Regions from separate parts of the Homo sapiens genome. Here region 1 is linked to region 2. The links are contacts of gene promoters, found by promoter capture Hi-C in human tissues and cell types (Jung and others, 2019). All regions are on one chromosome and are shown on one strand. Each heading gives the region's core, a stretch centred on a gene start or on the middle of the fragment in contact. The rest is flanking DNA. Distances are from core to core; before and after follow the strand shown.

What was found. The method cuts DNA at HindIII sites, captures the fragments that hold promoters and counts their contacts. A contact is called where the count stands out against the background at its distance.
Region 1: a fragment that was not itself captured here is called in contact with the fragment with the promoter of OR10G2 in region 2 in 2 of the 25 tissues and cell types used here (aorta and hippocampus).

Annotation. Positions count from the first base shown.
Region 1 is chr14:21,782,685-21,786,806 of GRCh38, forward strand. It overlaps TRA and TRAV7. Among named protein-coding and RNA genes, the nearest start is that of OR4E1, 110 kb to the left of the region's middle. The HindIII fragment of the contact is 3,829 bases long and covers 1-3,453 here.
Region 2 is chr14:21,633,081-21,637,420 of GRCh38, forward strand. OR10G2 (olfactory receptor family 10 subfamily G member 2) reads right to left here and starts at 1,860. Exons shown (of 1, transcript NM_001005466.2): 1 at 756-1,860. The coding sequence starts at 1,762. The coding sequence ends at 830. It also overlaps TRA. The HindIII fragment of the contact is 10,781 bases long and covers 1-4,340 here.

The DNA of each region.
Region 1 (4,122 bases), core at 289-2,788, 150 kb after region 2:
AATAAGAACAATTCCTCCAATTTAGAAGTTGGAGGAATTTTTGCACGTGGTGTTAGCAGATGTGCACAGCGTTAACATTTCTTTAATAATTTTGCTTATAGCCACAAGGTGACAGGGGTTCTCTTTCATTTGTAAACTATGTCTTTCTTATACCTAGGAAGTATGTTTACGTTAGAAGAGCATATTGCTGATTGGTTGACAGACAGACAGGCTGTTTCATTTATTAGATTAAAAGAAACAAACAATAAAAGCTTTGTTTGGCTACATAATTTTATGCAGCATTTTTGGTATCAAGACAAAGTATCAGGATGGAGAAGATGCGGAGACCTGTCCTAATTATATTTTGTCTATGTCTTGGCTGTAAGTTGAGGGTTCTAAGAACTGGGGACCCCAGGAGACATTTATTCAAGTCCTTTTGGGGAGATGGGGATGTAGTCTGGACTTACTTGTCATTGCTTGTTTGAGATTAAGAAATAAAATTATGAAAGGTCTAAATTAAAATGTACATATTGTACCTGATGTCTTTCTGAATAGGGGCAAATGGAGAAAACCAGGTGGAGCACAGCCCTCATTTTCTGGGACCCCAGCAGGGAGACGTTGCCTCCATGAGCTGCACGTACTCTGTCAGTCGTTTTAACAATTTGCAGTGGTACAGGCAAAATACAGGGATGGGTCCCAAACACCTATTATCCATGTATTCAGCTGGATATGAGAAGCAGAAAGGAAGACTAAATGCTACATTACTGAAGAATGGAAGCAGCTTGTACATTACAGCCGTGCAGCCTGAAGATTCAGCCACCTATTTCTGTGCTGTAGATGCACAGTACTCCCTAGGCACCTGCAACCTGTATCCAAACATGCAGCTGGGTAGAAGTACCATAACAGAAGCATCAGCAATAGGGGCCCTGAGCCTGAGTAGACGTGAAGAACTAAGGCATGAGTATGACCAGAGAGGGGAGGAGATAAAGGGTGCTGTTCATTTGACTCATGTATCTTTTATCAGGCCACCCTTCACAAAGACCGTCTTTGTGCCTTATTTGAATTGATCAATCCTGACCCTTCCTATCTTCAGCAGAATCCTTTAGTGCCCAGGTCAGTCTTCTAGCATAGAGAGCACTTGTTCTCTTCTCAGGCCTGGTGGAAACACATGTCAAAGAAATTTGAAGACTGTTGTTTTTCTACTGTAAAATCTGACAAAGGAACTACAATGGTTGGAATCATATGTGAAAAATGCTGTAGCAGTGGTTTTCATTTACTCACCCACTGAACAAGTATCTCTCAGCTCCTGATATGTGCCAGGTACTCTTTAGTCATTGGGATGCATTGGTATTGAACATAGCAGATAAGCCATCATAGAGCTCATGTTTCCTAAGTTTCTGGGATACACAAAGGGGAAACCAAGTCTGCCTAGGATTTAGAGGTTCCCGAGAAATTGCAGCAAGAGTTTAGTTTCATCTTCATCAATCATTTTTCTCATGGAAACATGGTTAAAGATTGGGGACAGCTGAATGCTGCTTGAATCTGTGGGTCAAGAATTGGCTTCACATGTTGAGGTATTGTCTGCCAGAGTTGAGGAGAAATGCCAGGTGGTTTTCGGTATCATCTGGCCATTTCCAAACAAGTCTGGAAAGTGAAGTGCTACAGGCTGTCATAAATAAAACAAATCTATAAAGCCTGACCCTTTATTTAATGGAATTGTGGAGTTCAAATAAAATATCAAATACGATGCTATTGATGAATAGCACTAAACATTGGACATTATTTTAAATAATTTGTAGAGTAGCTTTCTGTTACTGTAGATTCTAGATGCTCTTTTGGGGACCCAGCTCAGGACAGGCTAAGTGGAATTTGTGAAACCATCAGAAAGGAGAAAGGAGAAGCTCAGTCCACTGAGCCAATGCTGTAGGAGTTCTTTATATCCAGAATACATAACGAATGGCTCCAACTTTATAGTGCCAATTAAAAATATGTAAAAGACTTGAACAGGCATTTTACAAGGAAGATAAAGGAATAGCCAATAAACACATGGAAATTTGTTCTATGTCTTAAGTCATAAAAGAAATGTAAATTAAAACCACGATGAAATATTACTTTATACCTATGTCTAAAATTAAAAAGACTGACAACATCAAACCCTAGGTTTCCAGTGGCCTTGCTGTCCTGAACAGGTGCAAACAGCCCAGAGCTGGGGAAGTCTACAGGCCCTGAATATCCAGGAGGAATAGCCATTGCCATAAATTGAAATGAATATGATTCTGGGATCTTGTTAAAAGTATACATTAACTTAGGGTAAAATATATGAATTAACTTAGATAAAATGACGGCAGTATTATGGCAAGTCTTCCTATCCAAAAGTGTGGTAGGTTTTTAATTCTTTTGTGATCTCCAGGAGAGTTGCAATATATCCAGAATATAGAAAGAACGACTACAACTTTATAGTAACGATAAAAAACATGCAAAAGACTTGAATACGCATTTTACAAGGAAGACAAAGGAACAGTCAATAAACAAATGGAAGTTTGTTCTATGTCTTAAGTCATAAAAGAAATGTGGCCACGCACGGTGGCTCATGCCTGTAATCCCAGCACTTTGGGAGGCCAAGGCGGGCAGATCATGTGGTCAAGAGATTGAGACCATCCTGGCCAACATGGTGAAACCCTGTCTCTACTGAAAATACAACAATCAGTTAGGTGTGGTGGCGCACACCTGTAGTCCCAGCTACTCAGGAGGCTAAGGCAGGAGAATCACTTGAACCTGGGAGGCGGAGGTTGCAGTGAGCCGAGATTGCGCCACTGCACTCCAGCCTGGTGATAGAGTGAGACTCCATCTCAAAAAAAAAAAAAAAGTAAATTAAATGAGATATCACTTCATACTCATGGCTAAAATTAAAAAGACTGACAACACCAAATTTTGGTGAGAATGTAGAGTCCCTAGAACATGCCTTACTCATATAGGTTTAAATGGATACAGCCACATTGGAAAATACTCACCCTATGATCCAGCAAGTATCTTTTGAGGCATTTACCCAAGGGAAATGTAAAAAAAAAAAAAATCCACTTTCCTGTACAGGAATATTTATAGAAGCTTTATTCATAATAGTTCCAAGTTGGAAACAACTCGAATGTTCATCAATAAGAAAATGGAGCACCAAATTGTAATTTATTCATACTCAGCAGTAAAAAATAGACTACTGACATATACCACATTGTAAACGAATTTAAAAATTTTAGTTGATTGAAATAAGACAAACATGGAACAATAAAAAGTGTATGGTTCTTTAAATATAAAGTTCAAGAACATGTAAAACTAATATATGTGAATAGAAATTTTAAAAAGTGCTTGTCTGTGCAGGGTGGAGATCCAGTAGAAGGTGGTGTAGCATTTTCTGGGGGGTAATGAAAGTGTTCTATTACTCTATTGGGGTGTTGATTTCAAGAGTATATACATTTGTCAAAACTTCAGTGTACATTTGAGATCAGTGCATTTCCCTGTGTGTAAACTCTACCTCAATAAAAATTATTTAACTAAAAAACCTTATTTTGCAAGGATTTAAAACAATCAATAAATTGTATCCTTACATTAGCAATGAATAAGTAAAAAATTAGCAATGAGAGGCACACACTCATTCAATAACTGTTTTGGATAGACAGCAAAGTCACTGACAGTGGCTTTTCTTTTTGATTCCTGGGATCCTTCAGAGACTCCATCTCTTTGATGCTGCAGAAAACTGGGGTCACTGGTGGCAGGTTTCTTGTGGTAGGTAGATTTCCCATGAGCACCTGTTTTGATCTGTGTTTCCCTGCCCTTCCAATGGTTGAGAAGCTTCTGATGCTGTATGTTAAATGCCAAGAGAGAATTCAGTTTCCCTGACTTTACCCTATTTAATCTAAATCCTTGGATTACAATTGTTGGGTGCTAGAAATCAGATGTTCCTAATAAAGCCCACTGTTACTTGGGAAAATAAGCAATTTGTGTCCTTGATCATATGGTTCTGACATATTTCACTCAAACCTACTGGTATAATTCCTAAGATATATTCTCTACATAAACTCATAGAGAAGAACAGGATTTCCCCCACAGAAAGAGACAGTGTGGACATCAAAGGAAACTATGTTAACTCAA
Region 2 (4,340 bases), core at 610-3,109:
TGAGCAAAAGAGTACAGGCAAGTATAGAGCATGCTCACGGAACGGCAATAAATCAGTGAGGGTGGGAGAGGGAAGCAGAGGAAATGGCTTAAGAGAACATGTATGTGAAGCCAAGATTGCATTGGATTTTGAATTCCAGATTAAGGAGCCTGGCCTTATTCATTCTACCTTCGCCGAAGAGTCCTACAGATTCTGTGTTTCAGAGGGTAATTTTGATTGTGGTCTAGATGAGGAAGAACTAGTCAAGAATTAAGAGAGACAGTCTACACTGAATCAGTTTGAGCTGGTTTCATAGTTTTGAGGAGACAGAATCTGATGTGTTAGCACATCACGAGGGCGAGGGACAGGAAGAAAACACAAATAATCCAGAATTTTCAAGTTCAAGTGCTTGGAAATATTCATGCCATGCACAAGCAAAGAAATGGAATTTAGAGGGGTCTAGGATTAGGAGCAAAGACAATGAAACAAGGGGTTATGGAGCCCCCTTTTTACTCTTTTCAAATTTTCTGGCATGATATACTTTCTAAGACATTGACACATTCTCATCTTATTCAACCTTTGGTAAGGCATTTTCTCATCTCACAAGATAGAGGTGATAGAAATAATGTATCCATTTATTTCTAAAAGATTATGTAAAACAACCTGAACCAGTTTAATTAGGGGAAAAGATTTTGGGTCGAAATAATTCAGAATTTTCTGCCAAAGAAAATGAAAATAAATTCACTTTAAATCCTTAGCAGTTTATTGGGCATTTGTCACATGCAGCAGTAGCTGAAGAGAGTGGCAGTGATAATGATGCAGATGTAGTTACTTATTTTCATTCAGTCCTTCAACCTGCTGTTATCCTCTTCAGGGCAGACTTCACTTCCTGGTTCCTCAGTGTATAGATGAGGGGGTTCAGTAATGGAGTGACAACAGTGTAAAACACAGCCGCTGCCCCATCCAGGGGGTCTTTGGAGCCAGCCCTAAGGTAGATGAAAATACAGGGGACATAGTAGACTGTGACCACGATTAGGTGGGAGCCACAGGTGGAGAAGGCCCGGCGCCTCCCATCAGTGGTGCGTATCTTCAGGATGGCATTTACTATGTTGGCATACGAGAGCAGAATTAACATGAAGCAACTGGCGGCCACTACCCCGACGTCCACAAAGGTCACAAGCTCATTGACAGTTGTGTCAGCACAGGCCAGTCTCAATACTGCGGGGATGTCACAGATAAAGTAATCCACCTGATTGGGCCCACAGTAGGGCAGGCGGAAGGTCAAGGTGGCCTGGATAGACCCATGCATGGAGCCGGCGACCCAAGCTCCAGCCACAAGGACTGTGCATAACCTCCCATTCATGAGCACTGGGTAGCGCAGGGGCTGACATATTGCCAGGTACCTGTCATAGGCCATCAAGGTGTAGAGGAAGCACTGGGTGCTGCCCAGGAAGTGAAAGAAATACAGTTGAGCCACACAGCCACCAAACGGGATAGCCTTGATGGAAGGAGTAAAATCCAAAATAAGCAGAGGAACGGTGACTGAGGAGAGCCACATGTCCAGGAATGAGAGCACTCCCAGAAGAATGTACATGGGGCGAGCACAGAGCTTCGGGTCAGCCCACATGGTGAGCAGAATGAGCAGGTTCCCCAGCTGAGTGAGGATGTAAATGATGAAGAAGACCAGGAAGAGGAGGCTTCTTAGATTTGGGGGGTGAGACAAACCCAGAAGAATGAAATCTGTCACCACGGCATCCAGCGATGTGTTTTTGGTCTTTCCCATGTCTTTTTGTAGTCTGCTAAGATGAATGGTGACGTTTGACAAGAGAAACACAGCACAATGATGTTGTAAGTGAATGCTTTTGTCGGATGATTGATGCCTAGGAATTATGAGATAAACAAGATAGAGTCAAATTGTTTTTTAAAAGAGGAGGTGGTGTCACCATTAGTTATTTAGGTTTACTTAAAAGGAGAAGTCCTCCAGAGGCTGGTTAGTTTCCTAGATGGGAGGAAACTCTTGTCCATTGAGAGATACTGAAAGCCAGGATTTGCCAGATGAAGGAAGAGGGACACATGAGAGTGATAGAGAAGTACCGAAAATTCCAACCAAAAAGTGAGTTCGCCAAGGAGGGGCTAAAGTTGATGCAGAGCAGTGTGGAACAAACACCCTATAATGACCACATCTACTTTTTCTTCACCTACTATCATTGTCCCCTTTTTCCTCAGCTAAAATCTCATCTCCTTAACATATCATGCAAAAATATTCCTCATCTGGCCCTTATTTATATCGCTATTGTACCACTTGTAATTCCTTCTTATTGTTGGGAGGCATGACACTCTTCAAGCTTCTCACAGTAGTGTGCTCTAACTTGGGACTTACGCACACACTATCTTTTCTGCTCCCTTCACATAGGTAGTGCCCACTTTTCCTTCAGGATTCAGTTTGAGTGTCTTCACCTTCAAGAAGGCTTTCCGGATCCCTGAGGACAATGCTTATACTTTTCTGAGCACGTACATTATGTTGCATTGTCTAATTTCTGTTTTTCTCTCTTAATAATCATCCCGTCTAGCATGCTAAAAGTGATAAATACCGTAATTATTTTCTGAATGACTGAGATAGATAGAATGGATGTTGCCAAATCCCCCTGACTGAATACATTGTTTCTCTTGATCTTTTTTGTCTGACCCCTGTGCTCACATGGCTGGGACTTTTAGGTCAAGGGACCACCTCATTCACCATGTAATATGGGTATAATTTCATTATAAAAAACTCCAAGAAACATTTATGCCTGTTTTTGCTCCAGGATATCATTTAGATTTATTTGTTGATTTATATGGTTCATTGGTTTGGGATTGGGTTTTTTTTTTGGTATGAGGTCACAGAGGAATTTTTATTGTTTGTTATAAAATCATTGATTAATGCAGGACTTGATCTTTAGTGTGCTTGTGTGTAATATCTATGTATTGCAGTCTATCAAACAGCAACTCTCTCTAAAGACATTTACAGATTTTCAAGTATCTGAACAAGATGATAAAATAGAGGGATGGAATGTGTTTGTTTCACTCTTTTTGTTAAATAGGTTGCTTGATAAAGACTTTTCGCTCTATATATGGTTTGAGATGCATTTATCTTTCATTTAACTACAAAATATCTTTGTAATGCAAATGACTACTTTCATAAAGCAATTAAAATGACAATAGATTATTATAAATAACATGTGAATATTAATAAGTTTAATCTCTATCGGAAATTCTCCAAAGAGATTTTATCTTAAGTATTCTGTGAAATAACTTAATTCATATGTTAACATTCAAGAGTTATTAGTAGTAATAATAATAATACTGAATATATCTGGCTCTTCGAAGTCTGGAAAATGTTAAACTTGTCCTTTGCCCACCAAGAACGAAGAAATATCAGATTTTTATTGCCTGAGTTTCAGGAGGACACTTTGATTTATTTGAAAATGGATGGGAAAACTAAATCTTATTTTTGTGGTTAGAATATAGAGAAAAGAGGCTGGGCGTGGTGGCTCACGTCTGTAATCCCAGCACTTTGGGAGGCCGAGGCAGGCAGATCATGAGGTCAAGAGATGGAGACCACCCTGACCAACATGGTGAAACCCTGTCTCTACTAAAAATACAAAAAAATTAGCTGGGTGTGGTGTCGGGCGCCTGTAGTCCCAGCTACTCGGGAGGCTGAGGCAGGAGAATCTCTTGAACCCGGGAGGCGGAAGTTGCAGTGAGTGGAGATCGCACCACTGCACTCCAGCCTGGTGACAGAGAGAGACTCTGTCTCAAAAAGAAAAAAAAAAAATGAATATAGAGCAAAGATAGAAAGAGTTGAGATTAAAATGGTGCATAAAATACTAATTATGGCCAGGCGCGGTGGCTCATGCCTGTAATCCCAGCACTTTGGGAGGCCAAGGTGGGTGGATCACGAGGTCAGGAGATTGAGACCATCCTGGCTAACACGGTGAAACCCCGTCTCTACTAAAAATACAAAAATTAGCTGGGTGTGGTGGTGGGCGCCTGTAGTCCCAGCTACTCGGGATGCTGAGGCAGGAGAATGGCGTGAACCCGGGAGGCGGAGGTTGCAGTGAGCCAAGATTGCGCCACTGCACTCCAGCCTGGGTCACAGAGCGAGACTCCATCTCTTAAAAAAATATATATACATATACATATATATATATATATATACTTATTATGAGCTAAAAGTAATTTTCTTTTCTTTCTTTTTTTTTGTGTGATTGAGTCTTGCTCTGTTGCCCAGGCTGGAGTACAGTGGCCTGATCTCGGCTCACTGCAACCTCTGCCTCCCAGATTCAAGTGATTCTCCTGCCTCAGCCTCCCAAGTAGCTGCG